Linked DNA regions of Homo sapiens: regions 1, 2, 3, 4, 5 and 7 are each linked to region 6. Evidence: promoter capture Hi-C in 16 types of primary human blood cells and fetal thymus (Javierre and others, 2016). All regions are on one chromosome and are shown on one strand. Each heading gives the region's core, a stretch centred on a gene start or on the middle of the fragment in contact. The rest is flanking DNA. Distances are from core to core; before and after follow the strand shown. Region 1 has its middle 190 kb from the start of RDUR. Region 2 has its middle 180 kb from the start of RDUR. Region 3 has its middle 210 kb from the start of ZPLD1. Region 4 has its middle 240 kb from the start of ZPLD1. Region 5 has its middle 230 kb from the start of RDUR. Region 6 holds the start of NXPE3 (neurexophilin and PC-esterase domain family member 3). Region 7 has its middle 190 kb from the start of ZPLD1.

Evidence for each region. Contacts are between HindIII fragments. The CHiCAGO score rates a contact against its expected background, and 5 or more counts as called.
Region 1: a fragment that was not itself captured here is called in contact with the fragment with the promoter of NXPE3 in region 6 in 1 of 17 cell types (non-activated CD4 T cells); the score reaches 5.3 in non-activated CD4 T cells.
Region 2: a fragment that was not itself captured here is called in contact with the fragment with the promoter of NXPE3 in region 6 in 2 of 17 cell types (naive CD4 T cells and non-activated CD4 T cells); the score reaches 6.6 in naive CD4 T cells.
Region 3: a contact is called between a fragment that was not itself captured here and the fragment with the promoter of NXPE3 in region 6, in 11 of 17 cell types (naive CD4 T cells, non-activated CD4 T cells, activated CD4 T cells and 8 more). The highest score is 12.2, in naive CD4 T cells.
Region 4: a contact is called between a fragment that was not itself captured here and the fragment with the promoter of NXPE3 in region 6, in 5 of 17 cell types (naive CD4 T cells, endothelial precursors, total CD4 T cells and 2 more). The highest score is 7.5, in naive CD4 T cells.
Region 5: a fragment that was not itself captured here is called in contact with the fragment with the promoter of NXPE3 in region 6 in 1 of 17 cell types (activated CD4 T cells); the score reaches 5.3 in activated CD4 T cells.
Region 7: a contact is called between a fragment that was not itself captured here and the fragment with the promoter of NXPE3 in region 6, in 1 of 17 cell types (total B cells). The highest score is 6.5, in total B cells.

Annotation. Positions count from the first base shown.
Region 1 is chr3:102,134,488-102,137,187 of GRCh38, reverse strand. No RefSeq gene overlaps it. Among named protein-coding and RNA genes, the nearest start is that of RDUR, 190 kb to the right of the region's middle. The HindIII fragment of the contact is 1,760 bases long and covers 405-2,164 here.
Region 2 is chr3:102,115,712-102,118,411 of GRCh38, reverse strand. No RefSeq gene overlaps it. Among named protein-coding and RNA genes, the nearest start is that of RDUR, 180 kb to the right of the region's middle. The HindIII fragment of the contact is 5,490 bases long and covers 1-2,700 here.
Region 3 is chr3:102,220,551-102,223,250 of GRCh38, reverse strand. No RefSeq gene overlaps it. Among named protein-coding and RNA genes, the nearest start is that of ZPLD1, 210 kb to the left of the region's middle. The HindIII fragment of the contact is 1,117 bases long and covers 787-1,903 here.
Region 4 is chr3:102,194,465-102,197,164 of GRCh38, reverse strand. No RefSeq gene overlaps it. Among named protein-coding and RNA genes, the nearest start is that of ZPLD1, 240 kb to the left of the region's middle. RefSeq lists an enhancer at 1,261-2,460. The HindIII fragment of the contact is 1,104 bases long and covers 870-1,973 here.
Region 5 is chr3:102,171,690-102,174,389 of GRCh38, reverse strand. No RefSeq gene overlaps it. Among named protein-coding and RNA genes, the nearest start is that of RDUR, 230 kb to the right of the region's middle. The HindIII fragment of the contact is 566 bases long and covers 1,008-1,573 here.
Region 6 is chr3:101,777,770-101,780,469 of GRCh38, reverse strand. It overlaps NXPE3 (neurexophilin and PC-esterase domain family member 3), which reads right to left and starts at 1,259. Exons shown (of 8, transcript NM_145037.4): 1 at 1,146-1,259. RefSeq lists enhancers at 537-586, 1,151-1,445 and a silencer at 997-1,346. The HindIII fragment of the contact is 3,350 bases long and covers 1-2,700 here.
Region 7 is chr3:102,242,194-102,244,893 of GRCh38, reverse strand. No RefSeq gene overlaps it. Among named protein-coding and RNA genes, the nearest start is that of ZPLD1, 190 kb to the left of the region's middle. The HindIII fragment of the contact is 2,409 bases long and covers 79-2,487 here.

The DNA.
Region 1 (2,700 bases), core at 35-2,534, 360 kb before region 6:
TGTATTTTCCACTCAGATTTGCTGTGACCCAAAACTTCTCTAAAAATAATAGTCTACTAGTTAAAAATAAATAAATAAATAACAAAAAAGACATTGAACTCCTTTGTGAGGTAGCAATCTGCCCATCACTGTAAATAAAGGCTGAGAGAATGGCTGTCAAGAATACTACAGAAGGAATACCTGAATTATAGAGAAATTGTATGTCTAACCTCTACATTTTCTCCCACCTCTTAAGTTCCTATCATTTATTCATTCAACAAATACACTTTCTAGTTATTTTTAAGCGTGAGATATTTGTACCTCTGGGAATATGTGATGGTAGACCAGTAGATACCCAAAGCCACAGAGTATGCAGGGTGTATCTTCCAAGAGCATTGATTTTTTTAGATTTTTAAGCTAAAGCTTATTTTATTCACAGAAATTCCATTATTTATAAGCACCTTAGAAACAAACAGATGTTATGATTAATTTCCTTTTTCTGTTTCCCTCTTTGAAGTACATTATGGTCACACAGTATGTGCAGAGAGAAAGTAAAACAATTTACTTCTATTGTAGAAAAAAATTAATACATTTTTTGTGCTGATATGAACAGCAAAACTAAAGAAAGAAAAAGAGAGAAGCCAGACAGAATGAGCATGTTAATGAGAGAAATGTTAAATATGTAAAGATAATTGAATACAACTTGAAATCATGCAATGTCATAAAAGCATTCCTATTGCTACCTTCACATTACCAATAAACTGAAATTAGTCATATAACTCTGTTCTCTGCATGTCAGCGCACTTCATTCAAGCATGAAGACAAACTCACTGACAACCTAGAAAAATCAACATCCTTGACGTGTCTTTACACTGTTACAGGTATATGTTGCCTCAAACATCCTCATTCAATCAACAAAGTAATTGCTCTCCCTTCTAAGCTCCCACCCACTAAATTACTCTGAGAAATGCTTTTCAAACCACTCCCAGAGGACCATCACATTTTTCTTGGGAAGGAATTAGGAAACTTACTACTCTGCTTACAAAGCCAGTGGTTTTGGTGCTGGGGTCTGGTTTACAACCCTGGCTGGGAGACTGGCCTCAGGGAAGAGGGTATCCCAGCCCAGGGCTCAAGGACTAACTCATTAGGAGCCCTCCTTCCAGAAGGCGCTGTTCATTTACACCAACAGGTGTATGTATACCTGTTGTTTATGTCCATTTACAAAATTCTCCTAAAGCAATTTAATAGTGAAAGAAAACCTGGCACATCAAAAACCGGACTCCGTATTTACAAGATTCTATAGAAAGGTAAGTACACAAGATCTAGAGAATGCACTGGGCGTCTCCTTCCTGTGAATATTTGAAGTTTACATTTTTATTTTATTTAAGTTATGGAGGATATGTATTTGTTTTCTCTCAGTGCCATAAAAATAGTTTATCTACAAGAAATCTTACAAAAGTCAGGTCAGGACTCCTGCCTAATGAATAAAAACCAGATGTCAAGGAAACTTCTACCATAGGACTTTTGCTTCTATGCTTCTAATAATGGTGCAGAACTATGACTGCACCAATATTTTGTTGTTGATGGGTTTGATTTTGGTTTTGGGGTTTTGGTTTTTAGAATGGGGAAGTTTCAATCAGGAAAAGTAAGGCTAGAAGTAAGGTTTGTCTAGAGATTGGCCAGACACAGCGAGGAAACAAACTTGAGATTTACTGCAAGAACAAAATGCTTATCATACAAAAAGGGCTCCTGGAAAAGATGTGATGGATGTCATCGGGGTGCTTCCTCTTTCACTGAGAAATCAGGAGGCGCTCGAGTCTTGAAGATTAGACACACACAGGGGACCAAGCCCTCGAGCTCAATACCTGTAATCCCTGTAAATCTAAGAAGCAAGGAAACTGATGGTGTCTTTGGTTCTTTGCCTGTTTAGGGGGTCTCAGCAACTCCCTAGTAGAAGGCAGGATTTTCCTGTTACATGGCAGTGGTAAGATCAGGGCAATCAATAAACATCAGATACACAATAGATTACCTGGGTTTCTAGGTGTCAGAAGTAGCTGGTTTTCAGAGAGCTGCCAAATACTTTTTCATTCAGTTTTTCATTCTTTCAACAAATATTGTTGAATGTGCCTGGCACTATCCTTTCTAGTTATACAGCAATAAACAAGCCCTTTTCCTTCAAGAAGCTTACATTCTAATGGGGAAAATGAGGGAGGAGAAGGAAAAAGAAGGAACAACCAGTAGCTGCTGACCAGAGGTCCCAAGGTAGACCACCACAAAGTGCTTTTCAGTCCAGCATCCTACTATCCTCCATCCTCCCTATCTCGTAAAGCCTATGTAATTGGTGGAAGGCTCTAACTGGGTTTTCGAGACAAAAGGCTATTTTCCAGCAGCAGCCCAGAATTCGGATTACCATTTAGGAGCACTTCTATGGAACGTCAATATTAATTTCTGAGCTTGCAGGGTTGTCTTTCTACTCATCTCCATTTCCCAGGTTCCTATGAGTAGCAGTGAACATAGCGGAAATTGTACGAGCTTTAGAGCCACACCCACTGAGGAAGTTGGAAATTAGGTGACCCTGAATACGTTACTTAGTCTAAGTTTAGTCATATGTAAAATGTGGAAAATACCTAACTCATTATCTGATTATAAAATGAAATGATGTACAGAAGGTCTCTACTAGAGTGTCTGGCACATGGCAAGTGCTTTTGACATATACCTATT
Region 2 (2,700 bases), core at 152-2,651, 340 kb before region 6:
AATGTTCTCACTGCTCAAAGACATACAAAAGGTAAAGTTATGGTCTGAATGTTTGTGTGTCCCCAGAATTAATATGTTAAAACATAATCTCCAGTGCAGTGTTGTTGGCAGGTATGGTATCTGGCAGGTGATTAGGTTATGAGGGCTCTTCCCTCATGAATGGGATTAGTGCCCTTATAAAAGAGGCCCAGGAGAGCTTGTTTGTCCCTCCTGCTATGTTAGGCACCATGTATGAAGAATGGGCCCACATCAGACACTGCATCTACTGGTCCCTTAATCTTGGATTCCTCAGTCTCTAGATCTATGAAAACAAATTTCTGTTGTTGATAAATTACCCAGTCTGAGGTAATTTGTTATAGCAGCTTAAACAGAACAAGACAAGTAACTATGTTACTTATGGTAAATATGTTAACAATGTGATTTTTAAAGTGTATGACTATGTTGCATATTTTAAAAATTGGAAATTTAGATTAAATAAATGCATGACAAAAAGAAAACATATAATAGAATAACATATAACCTATTTGTACATAGAAGAAGCTGAAGCCAAGAGAAGTGAAATGTCAACCCAAAGACCAAAGATGATTAATGGCAGAGCCTACATTGAAACCATGGAGAATCAATTCTGCTGGGTGAGACAGAGTAATCAAGCCATCTAAGGTAGCAGGGTGGCCAGGGATACCAAAATCTATAAATCTGGTATTCTTTAGCTGTCATTATTTCTCATCTCTGAAGCTCTTGACATTGGAGCAAATTCTATGTCTTTATAGTACCCAACTTCTAATTAAAATTGCCAAGACATGTGGCATCTACATTTTTAATAAAGAACATGCTAAGAACATGGAATATATCTGACTAAACATCCCATGGAGGAATAAAAATCAAAGCAAGAAGCTAAGAACTGGGGTGTCAAAGTCAATTGGGAAGCAGAAAGGGCCTTGTGTCAAGACCTGGGAAAGGTCCCAGTCACCAATCAGGCTATTAGGATGGGGTTGGATAGGGACCATACAACCAGGCTTGCATTTATGGGTGATTCCCACAGGCAGCTCACACTTAGTACTCTCTTCCCCGCCCTTATTTCCACTACCTTTATTCAGATTTCCTGATATCATTAACGCAAGTCTGTTTCTTCTGCTAAATTGTCAGTTCCAGGGAGGTCAAAGGCAATGTCTTCATCTTCACATGCCCTATTGTGCCCTGTGCCCCACACAGTACTTTGAACACAAAAAGCCCTTAAATTCTTAGAACACTAGAAGCAGAAAGGCCTTTGGAAAATACGTAATTTTTATCAAAATTTTAAAAACTTATTTAAAAGCAACAAATCCCTCTTCAAATGAAATATTATCTAGAACCTTCAATATATAAAACAGATAAAAGAGGAGATGCTCTGGTAGAAGCGGGAGCAGGGGAAGGGGGAAACAGACAAAGGTCAACTCAATAATTTCTCATCCTCATTCCTCTCACCAACCCCTGCAACACTTCAGGGAACACAATTTAGAAATGTCTGATGCCATGCAACCCCTTTATTTTCTAGATGGAGACATTCCTTAAAGGTGTTTTTACAGAGTTAACATATCCAAGGCAAGGCTGGTGAGCTGCAATGGTTCGGGTCATCGTGTTTCTCTTGCCTATTACCTGAAGTGCTTGCTTAAAAATGCGGATTCAGCCAAGACCTAGAACAGATTTGAATTGAATTAAGGCTGGTCCTAATGATTATGCAGGCCCTCAGGTGTACAGCAGGCCCTCAGTAAATTTTTAATGAATCAATAGGTTGAAATGTTGAATTGAATAGGAGTCTCTCATCAGACTTTCATAGACTTTCTCATATGCATCAAGCATGGAAAGTAAAAAGATAAATAAGATAAAATCCCTGCCACTGGAGAACTCACTGTCCAGTAAGAGAGAAGTAAACACATCATTTAGTACTTTATGATAGGTAATTAAACAGAAGTACTTCTGGGGTGCTGTTTGGGCCACAGAGGAGGGGTTTTTAACCCAATAGGACACATGCTTAGAATACAATGCCTGAGCCAAGTCTTAGAAAATAATTAGGAATTAACCGATCAATGAAAGGTAAGAAGGAACAGCGTAAGTAAAGGAAAACTTGAAAGTAATATATAACATGGTTTATCCCAGTTCCTAGCAGGAGACAAAGGTAATTTTAGGGAGCAAAGAGGAGTAGAGTAGTGTCGCCCATATGTGAGGTTCTTCCATCTTTGGAAGGCAGTGCATGACCAATACCCATACTTGCTCAGAGATCACCTCCAACCGTACAGGTAGCTGAGCCTAGTGGGGTGCTTGGGAAGTGGCAGTGGGAGAGCAGAGCCAGAAGCCAGTGAGCCCAGAAAGTCCACCCAGTCTTGAGCCTTGAAGCCAGAGCACCGGGGCCATAGCAGCCAGGAGAGACTGGCATGGAACAAAGCCTCTAAGGACTCCAAGTAAAAAGGAAAATCACAAAGGTGTTGATTAGTTCAATTCTTAGCGTGGTAGAAAACACAAACTTTCCTTGTATGTGCCATTTGGAAGGAGTCAGTTGATTCAGTCTATCTGAATGAGTAGGTCAAGGCAGGGGGAGAACATATGGTAGAGAACATAACCTGTGTAGACTCTGGAAACACATGCCTTCTTCCTTCCTAGAGTACGTATTTGGAGGAGACCCTCATTAGGAACTGGAAACAATATTCATTCTGTCTGGTCCTG
Region 3 (2,700 bases), core at 96-2,595, 440 kb before region 6:
ACAGACCAGGAGATTCCCTCGGGTGACTACACCACCAGGGCCCTGGGTTTCAAGCACAAAAGTGGGCAGCTGTTCAGGCAGACACCAAGCTAGCTGCAGGAGTCTTTTTTTTGTACCCCAGTGTTGCCTGGAACTCCAGCGAGACAGAACCGTTCACCCCTTTGGAAAGGGGGCTGAAGCCAGGGAGCAAAGTGGTCTTGCTCGGTAGGTCCCACTCCCATGGAGCCCAGCAAGCTAAGAATCACTGGCTTGAAATTCTCACTGCCAGCACAGCAGTGTGAAGTTGACCTGGGGTGATCCAGCTTGGTCAGGGGCGAGGCATTCACCATTACTGAGGCTTGAGTAGGTGGTTTTCCCCTCACAGTGTTAAGGAAGCCAGGAAGTTCGGACTGGGGGGAGCTCACCTCAGCACAACAAAGTGGCTTGGGCCAGACTGCCTCTCTAGATGCCTCCTCACTGGGCAGAGCATCGCTGAAAGAAAGGCAGCAGCCCCAGTCAGGGGCTTATAGACAAAACTCCCATCTCCCTGGGACAGAGCACCTGGGGGAAGGGTGGCTGTGGGCGCAGCTTCAGCAGACTTAAATGTTCCTACTTGCCATCTCTGAAGACAGCAGCAGATCTCCCAGCACAGCCCTCAAGCTCTGCTAAGGGATAGACTGCCTCCTCAAGTGGGTTACTGACCCCTATGCTTCCTGACTGGGAGACACCTTCCAGCAGGAGTGGACAGACACCTCATACAGGAGAGCTCTGGCTGGCATCAGGCAGGTCCTCCTCTGTGATGAAGCTTCCAGAGGAAGGAGCAGGCAGCAATCTTTGCAGTTTTGCAGCCTCTGCTGGTGATACCCAGGCAAACAGAGTCTGGAGTGGACCTCCAGCAAACTCCAGCAGACCTGCAAAAGAGGGGCCTGATTGTTAAAGGAAAAACTAACAAAGAGAAAGCAATAACATTGACATCAACAAAAAAGATGCCCACACAAAAACCTCATCAAAAGGTCATCAGCATCAAAGATTAAAGGTAGATAAATCCACAAAGATGACGAAAAAACAGAACAAAAATGCTGAAGATTCCAAAAATCAGAATGCCTCTTCTCCTCCAAATGATAACAACTCTTCTCCAGCAAGGGCACAAAGCTGGATGGAGAATTAGTTTGACAAATTGACAGAAGTAGGCTTCAGTAGGTGGGTAATAGCAAACTCCTCTGAGCTAAAAGAGCATGTTCTAACCCAAAGCAAGGAAGCGAAGAACCTTGATAAAAGGTTACGGAAACTGCTAACTAGAATCACAAGTTTAGAGAGGAATATAAACGACCTGATGGAGCTGAAAAACACAGCACAAGAACTTGTGAAGCACACACAAGTAGCAGTAGCCGAATCAATCAAATGGAAGAAAGGATATCAGAGATTGAAGATCAACTTACTGCAATAAGGCATGAAGACAAGATTAGAGAAGAAAGAATAAAATGGAATGAAAAAACTCTCCAAGAAATAGGGGACTATGTGAAAAGACCAAACCTATGATTGATTGGTATACCTGAAAGTGACGGGAAGAATGGAACCAAGTTGGAAAACACTCTTCAGGATATTATCCAAAAGAACTTCCCCAACCTAGAAAGACAGGCCAACATTCAAATTCAGGAAATACAGACAACATTACTAAGATACTCCTTGAGAAGAGCAACTCCAAGACACATAATCATCAGATTCTCCAAGCTGAAATGAAGGAAAAAATGTTAATGGTAGCTAGAGAGAAAGGTCAGTTTACCTACAAACGGAAGCCCATCAGACTAACAGCAGATCTCTCTCCAGTAACCCTACAAGCCAGAAGAGAGTGGGAACCAACATTCAACATTCTTAAAGTAAAGAATTTTCAACCCAGAATTTCATAATCCAGCCAAACTAAGCTTCATAAACGAAGGAAATATAAAATCCTTTACAGACAAGCAAATGCTGGGGGATTTTGTCACCACCAGGCCTGCCTTACAAGAGCTCCTTAAGGAAGCACTAAATATGGAAAGGAAAAACCAATAATAGGCAGAGAGCCAAATCATGAGCGAACTGCCATTCACAATTGCTTCAAAGAGAATAAAATACTTAGGAATACAACTTACAAGGGATGTGAAGGACCTCTTCAAGGAAAACTACAAACCACTGCTCAAGAAAATAAGAGAGGACGCAAACAAATGAAAAAACATTCCATGCTCAATGATAGGACGAATCAATATCGTGAAAATGGCCATACTACCCAAAGTAATTTATAGATTCAAAGCTATTCCCATCAAGCTACCATTGACTTTCTTCACAGAATTAGAAAAAATTTACTTAAAATTTCATATGGAACCCAAAAAGAGCTCGTATAGCCAAGACAATCTTAAGCAAAAAGAACAAAGCCAGAGGCCTCATGCTACCTCATTTCAAACTATACTACAAGGCTACAGTAACCAAAACAGCATTCTACTTGTATCGAAACAGATATATAGATAAATGGAACAGAACAGAGGCCTCAGAAATAACACCACACATCTACAACCACCTGATCTTTGACAAACCTGACAAAACAAGCAACGGGGAAAGGATTCCCTATTTAATAAATGGTGCTGGGAAAATTGGCTAGTCATATGCAGAAAACTGAAACTGGATCCCCTCCTTACACCTTATACAAAAATTAACTCAAGATTCATTAAAGACTTAAACATAAAACCT
Region 4 (2,700 bases), core at 172-2,671, 420 kb before region 6:
AACAGCAGAAAAAAAAAGAAGAGAAGAGATTAAAAGAAGAAAAAACAGTTAATCAAGTGTAGGAAGCATCTTAGTCTACAAATTCTGATATGTGAGAAATACAGCTTTATTTGTTTCAGAAACCAATCTCTTTCTCGAGTCCCTATTCCACTGAGGTAGTAGAAATGTAACCTAATTCTCTCCAAGTTTTATTTTCATCTAAATTCTTCAATCTTACTTAGTACTAAGGTGTGTGTGGTTGACATGCCTGTGTGTGGCTAGTGTGTGTGTGCACATGTGTGTGATGGGAGTGGGCAATTGAAGGAACACTTGCATTTGAACCTCAGAGTCATCTCACACTGGCATCTACTGTCCCATCTCAGATCACACATCCTCCTCAGTGGCTGGTCCATCTGGGCACCTGAAAAAATGTCCTTGGTTTCCACCTGCACGGTCCCTTCAGGAACTCCTTCTCCACCATTCTTGGTTGCAAAGATGTCATTTGCTGCTCCCTCATGATAATACGGTGTGAGAAACTCTAGGAGCCGTCTAACATCCCATCTGGTTAGAGCCACATGGCAGAGCTGTTTTCCCTTCTCTCACCAGCTGCTCTGAAGAGAAATGAGGTATAGGCTGTCTCTCCTCTCAGATCCCCCAAGCTATCTAGAGCTATTGTCAAAGCCTCCAGCTTGGCACAGGACCTTTTCCAGGAACCCCCCCAAGCTTCCTTGCCTTTTCTCATTTATTTCTTATTCTGATAGCCCAAGGAATCCTTCCTGGTGGGGGAGGCCATGGGTGAAAAGTTTTCCTCCCTAGTTTCCAAGCCGCTTCTGTCTTGGTCTCACTCCTGTTCTAAGCCCTCATGAAGAAACAAAAGCCCCAACAAAGCTTTTTCCCTCTCCTGAGGCAATACATATGGGCTAGTTATTTATATGGAGGCAAGTAAGAGACAAAGAGGAGAAAGTGCCATGGGGAAAAAAAAAAAACCATAGGATAGTCTTTCAAAAATATTATACCTCCCAGAATCCGAGACAAGGTAGCAGCAGGCTGGCCTAAGCATCACACAAGAGCAGAGGAAGGCTAACAGTAAAGAAACATTTTGAGTTGGAGATTACAATTCATACTAAATGGTTATATTTTCTTAAACATTTCCCTTTCATAGGATGAGCTTCTCTGTCAGGAAAAAGGTGAGATACTTTCTGGGAGTAAAATGAGGTCGAATTGAAGAAGGTTTACTAAGGACAATCAGCTCTAATAGCCCTTTGAACCATTAACACGTGGGTTTCTCACAACAGGTAAGGTTGGCATCACAATTCCCTTTTACACATGACAGAATGAAAGCCTGGGCATTCATCCAAAGTCACATGAACCAGTGGCAGTGCTGTGAAGGTTTGAGGTGAGTGGAAACGTTTATTCCCATCAACTCCTGGCTTCCTTCTTCTCCCATGACTGAGCTTTAAAACGTAACTTGTCTTCAAGTGTATAAAACTCTCCAATCAGTGATTTAAGAAAAAAATTTTCTGTGTCATTGACAGGAGTTGTTACCTGCTTGAGAAAATGAAACCAGGACGTGACTCAGCATGGAAAAGTGGGAAGTGATTTTGTGGGAACATTATCTCCTACAGTAACCAATTTTGCTGGGGCTTTGATTTGCTAATGAGCAATACTTCCACAGAAACATACATATTTTCATCATATAACTCCTAAGAGCAGTGCACCTGCCTCCTGGGACAGGCTGGCACAGGCACATTCTTATGCTGGAATCTGTGTCCCAGGGGTCAAGTGGGATGGGTGGAGTACATTTCTGAAGCAGCCTGAAGCAGGAAGAGCAAGAGCTGTGTAATTGTTCAGTCTTTGGAGAGCACCAAAAAGCAGACTCCGGAAGCAGAGTTCAGCCATCAAGTATAGAGCAGAGAGGACACCAGAGGCAAGATCTGAAAGTCCAAAGCAGGTAGAAGCAGCACAGAAGTGAAAATAATAGTCTAGGGGAAGCTTAGCCCTCCAGACTTTACAAGAAGTCAGCAAGTGATATTAGAAAAGAAATAATTATGCTTTAAATACCATCCCCCATGTAAATATTTCTTTTTTTAACTTCATTGTTTAATAACAATGGGTTATAACAGGCAAATGATTTTTTCTGAGATGGGGTCTCACTCTGTTGCCCAGGGTAGAGGGCAGTGTTGCTATCATGGCTCATCACAGTGGGGCTCAAGCAATCCTCCCACATCTGCCTCCAGAGTAGGTGGGACTATAGGGGCGAACCACCACATCTGGCTAATTTTCATTTTCATTTTTATTGTAGAAGTGGAGTTTCACCATGTTGCTCAGGCTGGTCTCAAACTCCTGGGCCCAAGCAATCCTCCCACTTTAACCTCCCAAAGTGCTGGAATTACAGGCATGGGCCACTGCACCCAGCCAGACATGTGATTTTTAATTTGACTTTTTTCTTCATATATTATGAATATTTTACCTTTCCTTTATTTTTCAATCTACAGCAGTTTGATTTTTGCTATGACTGCTCCCTTGTCTGCCCTAATAAAAGAAACAAGTGGTACAATCATTGCTAAATCTAAGGCCACCTCCAGTCTTGTCTTACTTTTATCTTCCTTGGCCACTTCTTCCATAATCAAACATCCGTCCTTTGACTTTCTCAACATGCCTTTATCCTGGTTTTCATCTATTTCTAGCTGTTCCTTCTGATCTCCTCGTTAGTCACTCTCT
Region 5 (2,700 bases), core at 41-2,540, 390 kb before region 6:
TACATAATAAGGGAATTTTCTTGATTGTTCATGTTCTGTGCACTCTAGGTTTTTTGGTGCTTTTTGTATCTTCCATAATCATTGAAAACTCCCCCAAAAAGCATAGGTTATTTTACTGTTACATTTATTAATAAAATCCAACAAACTTTTCTTTATAAATCCATTTTTTTTCTATCTTGTGTGAGTCTGGAAGCCACAATAATGTCAATATTGTCTTAACATTAAATCTTAGTCAAAGAGGACCGTGGCTCATTTTTTATGTATGCATATTTGATATGGCTTTGTTGTTTTGGTAAACAATTCAAACAGTACAGAAAAATACAAAAGGAACATAATTGTCACCTGAAGTTCAGCCCTCAGATGTTTCCAATGTTAGCATTTCTCTGAACATATGCCCCAATGTATCTCCGTGCCTACAGACACATATGGAAATGAATATACAATTTTATATTAAGGGGATCTTTCTATTCAGACTGTTTGAAGCATGGTTTTTTCACTCGACCATATCTTGGACATGTGATTCCATGCTTATAAAATCAGAACTCCAGCCAGGCGCAGTGGCTCACATTGTAATCCTAGCACTTTGGGAGGCTGAGGTGGGCGAATCACGAGGTCAAGAGATCGAGGCCATCCTTGCCAACATGGTGAAATCCCATCTCTACTAAAGATACAAAAATTAGCTGGGCATCGTGGCAGGCACCTGTAGTCCCAGCTACTTGGGAGACTGAGGCAGGAGAATCACTTGAACCTGGAAGGTGGAGGTTGCAGTGAGCCGAGATCACGCCGCTGCACTCCAGCCTGGGCGACAGAGTGAGACTCCGTCTCTAAAATTATAATATAATATAATATAATATAATATAATATAATATAATATAATATAATATAATCCTCGCAGCTTGCAAGGCTGAGTGTAATCTGGCCGTGTCCACTTTTCATATAGCATTGGCGACTTCTCCCACCTTAGTCATCTCACTGGCCTCCTTGTCATTCCTCAAGCAAACAAAGCTTATTCCTACCTGATGGCCTTTATATTTCTGCTTCCTTCCTCCTGGAATGCTTTTCTTTCCATTTTTTCTTTGAGAGACCACCTCATGCTTGACGTTTAGATCCCAGCTGAAATGTCCTCTATTCAGAGATCTCCCACGATGACTTTATCTGAAGGGGCTACTCAGTCCCTCTACATTTAATTACCCTGAGTTATTTTCATAATAATGTTATCTCTGTCTGAAGTTATTTGATTAAGTTGTCAAATGACTGGGACATTTTTAATTGAATCATCTTAACAATAAGGAGGTTAATAAACAAACCAACTGTACTTCAAGCAAATCAAGACATTATCAGAAGCCAAGACTCAAAGAACAATGGGCATGACTTTAGAATAACTTAGGGATCCTTGACTTACATCTACAAACATAAAAGAACAACTGGAATGTCATCTAGAGCATACCAAGAATTCTCACAGTTATTGTTTATAAGTTAAAGAGTTTAAACCATCCTGGTATAGATTTCTTTATTATAATATTTATAAACTGCAAGACAGTTGTCAAAATCTAAATTTTAGGTTACATAAGCTTCCAATAAGTAAAATTATCTTTATGTTGTAAGGAAGATTAGAAGTTTAGCTTCAATGATGAGGTCCCTAAGACATAAAAATGGTAATAAAATATCTTTTCTCAAAATCTACTCATTAATAAACAATCTGGCAATGGAGTCTATAGCCAGATTTTCTGTGAGTAATTGTAAGTATAAATCATACTATCATTTGAGAAAAACATGCATCTCATCTCTAAGAGGAAAATTTTTAGAAACATTGAGAAAGAGTGACCTGGTTCAATTAACATGAATACCATGGACATTTGAAGAAAAAGGAGACTAATGATTCTAAAAATCATTTAATAAAGAGCACTTTATTTGATTTAAAATAAAAATAAAAACCACTATTTTGAGGGCTGTTTTGGTTATTTCTTAGTAATAAATTCACAGGGCTCTAGGACTCTCAGAAGCATCCTGAAAAATGTGAACACAGGCACTAAACATATACATTAAAGATTAATTAGTAGAAAACAATTCCTGTAGAATTCAGAACAAAGTGCTTATAGTTCATTTAAGTAAAAAAAAAAATGTTATTTTCCAATTTAAAGGATACTTGGAAATTAAGCATTTCTTTCTTCCCACTGAACTATATATTTTAAGACAATTTGGGATCTTCAGTTGGCCATGAATGTCTATTGAGTATGGATGTGTTTCCTCTACCCAGAACTTGAACTCATTAAGGGAGGGAAGCATTGTTAATTTCATAATTGTACAGAAAATTCCACTGTAGAAATGCCTGCTGTAACTGAAGCATTGCGTCAAGCATTCTGAAGTTGTCAAATGAAATTAAATGATGAGAATAATTTTGGAGATGGTTGTTTTGTACTTTTGGGGTGAATCAATTTTTCTGTCCTTTTATTAAGTATGTTACAAGTCTACAATGTTCTTCCCATTACTCCCCAAATACAATAATCAAAATCTCCCATTCTACTTGCACAACATTCATATCCAGTCTTTTTAGGGCTCCTTCTCCAGGTGTTTTTAAGGTTTTCAATGATTGCATGTACATGTTCCACAACTCTGTGTAGGTTGTTGGATATCCATTGTCAATTCAGGCAGCTGCTCCACAGATCTCTGCTGCTGCAGCTCTCCAAAGTCCAGGCCACA
Region 6 (2,700 bases), core at 10-2,509:
CTTTCCAAAATGATGTTTGAATTGTAACTTAAATTGTCAGGTCAGGACAACCCAATTCCCAGGCAATGGGGAAGGCTAACCCCACTTCAGTGATTTATCCCTTCGTTTCCTTTCTCAGTAACAAATAACAGCACTCTATTGGCCCCAAAGAGATTGTGAGGATAACAGACATGGAAAAAAAAATACTAAACAAATTCAAAGAAAAGCAGAACCCAAACACTACGGAGAAATAGTATACTGCTGCCTCCAAACAATTATCAGGGTCTGGGAGTCCTGCCAGTTTCAAATATATCCTGATGTTCCAAATGATAATTAACCACAGTGAGGAGCGGGGAGGCCCACCAAAGCAGTGTGATTCTTTATCTTTAGGAAATGTGGCAACAATCCCCCTTTAATGTAAATAATGAAAAGCAAAGAAAATTTACAATTTTGCACAAATGCTGCATAAATCCTGCCTCGGAACCCCTCTTATTACCACCCTAGTGGCCTTTGATCAGGCAGAAATGGGCAACAGGCCAGGGTCTCCATATCACACCTTGTAAAGTTACACTCGTTTCTCCCCATACGACCTGAATCTGATGTCCCCAAACGGCAGCTCAGTAAGGCCAGAACAGTCCACCGTGTGACAGCAGCGCCAGCCAAGAGGCAGCTGGTGCCCAGAGCAGCGATGAGCCGAGAGATATGAGATGGGCAGGGAGGCGTCGCCAAGTGCTCCGCACCGGGTTAGTGAAGGTGCCTGGAGGACAGAAGTCTTTCGCTGCGGCGTGGAGGTCCGAACTGTACCGAGCTGTGGCGTTGCCGCAAGTGGAGGAAACTGAGGATGGAGATGCTCGCTCCCGGCCCCGCCCCGCCCCGCCCCGCCGGTACTAGCCTGGGCTCCGGCTTCTTAGCTGCGACGCTTTGGCAACCCAGGGCTCCAATTCTGCCTATGCCTTCGACCCGGGCCTCCCCTCCCTGGCACCTATGCCCACAGCCACGACTCCAGGGGCTGCACCTATCAGCACGGGGCTGGGGACTCGGGAGCAGATGCGCGCGGAGGGAGGGGCTTCGCAGTCTAGGAGCGCGCTGGCAGAGCCGGGCAATGGGTCGCTCCGCCCGCAGCGGCCCCTCCCGACGTCCGCACACAGACCACATCCAGCACTCACCTCCGGGACCCGCCCGCCCTTCGCTCTCCGGGGGCCAGGGATCCTGACGCCCCGGTCGGTCGCCGCAGCGCCAGGCCGCTAGCCCCCCGCTTCCTCACCCGGCGACGTCTCCTCACCTCCGACCCCCGGCTACGATTGGTGGAGCTTCGGCGGGGGCGGGCCGAGGGCGTTGACTGACAGCAGCACGCGCCGGGCGGAACCCACAGGCCTGGAAGCGAAGTTGGCACCCTGGCGCTCTACGCCGCCAAGCTCCTGCTCGCGACGCGACACTGCAGCTGTCGCCCCGCGGATCGAGGTCTGGCCCCTCTCACGACCCAACTCCTCGTGAACTTCGGACGTCTGAGTTTCCTGGGAGCATCCACCTACCTCAAGGCTTTTCGCTTGTCAGCGAAAGTGCCCACAACCGCAGTTGACTCTAGTAGGGCAGTCTTTCCTGTGGAGTGATGGAATTTATTGTGCCCTGAACCAGAGAAATGCGATTTGCCAAGTATAAGCACGGATATAGCGGATCCTTGAATCTTTTCCTTGCTTTGACATTAGTCAACAACTTCTACTCGCCAGTAAAACAGCCCGTTCCTTTTACTCTCACTGTACATGATGTCGGTCTCTTGGCAAAGCATACTTTCCTCACCCTCCACCATCCCCAATTCTGGGTTATCCTATTTTGGACATTTTTCTAACTGGTAAAACGTCGGTAGCAGTTTTGTGAAATTCAGGAACTGAGAGGAGTCCTGAGAAGACACTTGTTCAAGAAACCAGAAGGAATTGTGGGCTGCACCGTGTTTCTCTGTGCTTGGAGCACAGTGGGGTTAACACAGGCCCCAAAAGCAGGCCTGCCCCCGGACTATTACCCCAAGGTTTAAGAAAAATAATTAATGTACATGACAACTAAGTATTTTTCCATTTCTTGACCATAATGGACTCTGCATGCTCATTCAGATGTTTTCATGGCAGGCCTGCTTCGTGGGCAACCAGATCCGTGAATGGGATAAAAGGAAGTTCTGCCACAGGGTGGAAGATCTCTTCTGTAGTAATGATCTTCTTTTTTTTTTTTTTAATATACTTTAAGTTCTAGGGTACATGTGCACAACGTGCAGGTTTGTTACATATGTATACATGTGCCATGTTGGTATGCTGCACCCATTAACTCGTCATTTACATTAAGTATATCTCCTAATGCTATCCCTCCCCCCTCCCCCTACCCCACAACATGCCCAGGTGTGTGATGTTCCCCTTCCTGTGTCCAAGTGTTCATTTATGCAGCCAACAAACACATGAAAAAATGCTCATCAGCACTGGCCATCAGAGAAATGCAAATCAAAACCACAATGAGATACCATCTCACACCAGTTAGAATGGCGATCATTAAAAAGTCAGGAAACAACAGGTGGTGGAGAGGATGTGGAGAAGTAGGAACACGTTTACACTGTTGGTGGGACTGTAAACTAGTTCAACCATTGTAGTAATGATCTGATACTCCTTCTTCCTCGAGGAAATACAGCACTCTGGGACCTTTTGAGGACATAAAAGGGTAGCTTCCTTCTGCTATCGAAGA
Region 7 (2,700 bases), core at 34-2,533, 460 kb before region 6:
CTGTTCACTTTGGACAGACTACGTCTGCTCAAAAGTCACCTGTGGTTCCCTGTTGCCAGCATAATAAAATTCTAAGCTTTGATGTAAATATCTGCTCTGACTTAATTCTACTCCGTAAATATTTGTCACATTTCCTCTTTTGTATATTAGCCACTCCTTGAGCAACCTCCATGCCTTTGCTTGATGCATTCCACCTGCCTAAGATGGTGCCTTGTTGTCTGCTACATGTCCTTCATGACCCAGCTCAAGTCATCACTTCTCCACAAAGTCTTCCCAATTGTCCACTTCATAGTCATCTCAATTGTCCATTTCATAGCCATCTCACTTCTCTCTAGGTATTTATCTTTGCCATGCACTGGCCACTCAGCATATTCCATCCTGTTATACCCTTTATATCCTGAGATTATAACTACAGTATACCTTTATTGAATGCAAGGACTATATATCTGACAATATTTCTCTTGCATTCATCATAATGCCTGATATGGAGTAACAATAGCACTGTATATATCACTAAATATATATATCATTATATATCACTATATATATCACTATATATATATATATATATAGAGAGAGAGAGAGAGAGAGAGAAACACTTTGGAATATACAAAGCACTTGCGACTTCCAAGGTAGCCATACTCCCAGCAACATAAACACTGGACCCCACCATCCCAGCCTTGCCCCAGGAGGCTCCCACACCTATTCTCACTATTAACTCTTTGCTTTCAGCTTATAGATGAGGACACTGAGACTCAGAAGATTCAGTTTCCCTGTAGTAAGTCAAAACCTGATTCTTCTACTTAACCACACTGCCGCTATTATGAGCATTCAAAATATTTTTGTGGACGTATGCCATGACTATCAGCACCACCACCAACTCCAGGAAGTTAGTAGAAGAGCAAAGATGTGTATGTGTGTGTGTATTGTGTTGTGGCAATGACCGAGTGTGGTAGATAAACAGTGTAGCAGTAGCAAATATACAAAATCAAGAAAAACAAACAAACAAATAATAGTTGTGATATTTAAGAGCTTCCAAGTTTTAAGCCTGTCACTAATTAGCTGTATGCTCTTGGGCAAGTCATCTGCAACAGATTTCTACCTGGTGCCCCAACTCAGGCAAAGATGATATAACCTCAATCCCCTTGTCCTTGGTCCCACCCAAAACAAAAGAATTTACAGGCCTGTACCACACCTCAGACCATAACCAATACCTAACCAAGGAATATAAGGATGATGATTATTTAAAATGCCAGTAGACATTAATTGAAGTTGAAGCTAAAGCACCAAGGAATATTACCTCCTTTAGGATTATTTAGAAAAACAGATAATTATGGGTCTGAGATGCTTAAGATATATGTGGTTCTGTTTAAGGTAGGAGTGTGAACTTAGTGCACTGTTACTATCTTCCATAAATCCCTATTGTAGAGTTTATAGGTGAAAACAATATGAAACTCTAATCTTGGAAACTGGATTAGTAAGAATTAGCTGTGTAACCATGTGGGAAAATTCACTTAATCTTTCCACACTCAATAACTCTACCTGTGAAATGAGGAAAGTGGTTAGGTCAAAGAATTTTTGAAATCATTTACATGTGTTAAAATCTTCACCTAAATATTATTGATAAATTTAAAATAGATCCTTCAAATACATTTTTTTAAAGCTGAGTTTTGACTGATCTTTATAGATAATTTTTTAAGTAGTGTAGGAATGTTAAGCAGTATATTCAAAAGCCTGCATGTAATTATAATAACTGCTAAGCATAATTAATCTTATTCATTCCATGCCCAGCTATTTACCTAAATCTTTACTGTAACTTTTAGCTAGGTGGGATCTCTCTGTGACTCTGTGACTCTATTTGAAAGAAAACAGAATCCCAACAAGGCTTCCAGAAGACTTCTTTTAGAGCTCTGCTGTGAGGATTAATGAAGCAAAGTCTCCTGCTATGAACTTCAATTCCAAGAGAATCAATGGCCCCAGGAAGGGTTGGAAGGAATTCCAGCAGAAGTCAGAATAATACATTCTCTTCCCATCTTTTTCACTAACCATTGAATCAAGAGTAATGAGTTTCGGCTTGCTCGTCGTCATTAGTTCCAGCTGTAAAATGGAGGTAAACATACAGTCAAGAACTCTTTCCCCCATAAGCCTGAGCAGGGCAGCTCCTACTGCCATCTATTCCGTAATTCCCAAATTGCTGGCATTTGTTTTCTATTGCCGAATCCAAATTACCACAATCTCAGTAGCTTAAAACAAAACATTTATTATCTCACAGTTTCCTTAGGTCAAGGCATGGCTTAACTGGGTCCCCTGCTCAGGGTTTTACAAAGCTGCTGGGCTGCATTTTCATCTGGAAGCTCAAATGAGTAAAAATCTGCACCCAAATTCATTGAAGTTGTTGATAGAAATTGCTTCCTTGTAGCTATAATACGTAGGGCCCTGGCTTTTTGCTGGCTATTGATTGGAGGTCACCTCCAGGTCCCGGAAGCTTCCCATTATTCCTAAAGGCTCCCTGCAGTGTTGGCTTCTCCAACATGACTGCTTACTTCATCAGGCCCACAAGGAGTCTCCAGTTCCAGAACTCATATAATCTATAGCAGTCACAGAAATGACATCCATCACCTTTGCTATGTAAATACCTAAGCATGAAAGTGCCATCTCATTGTCTCATGTTATTGCCTAGAAGCAACTAATAGTTCCTGC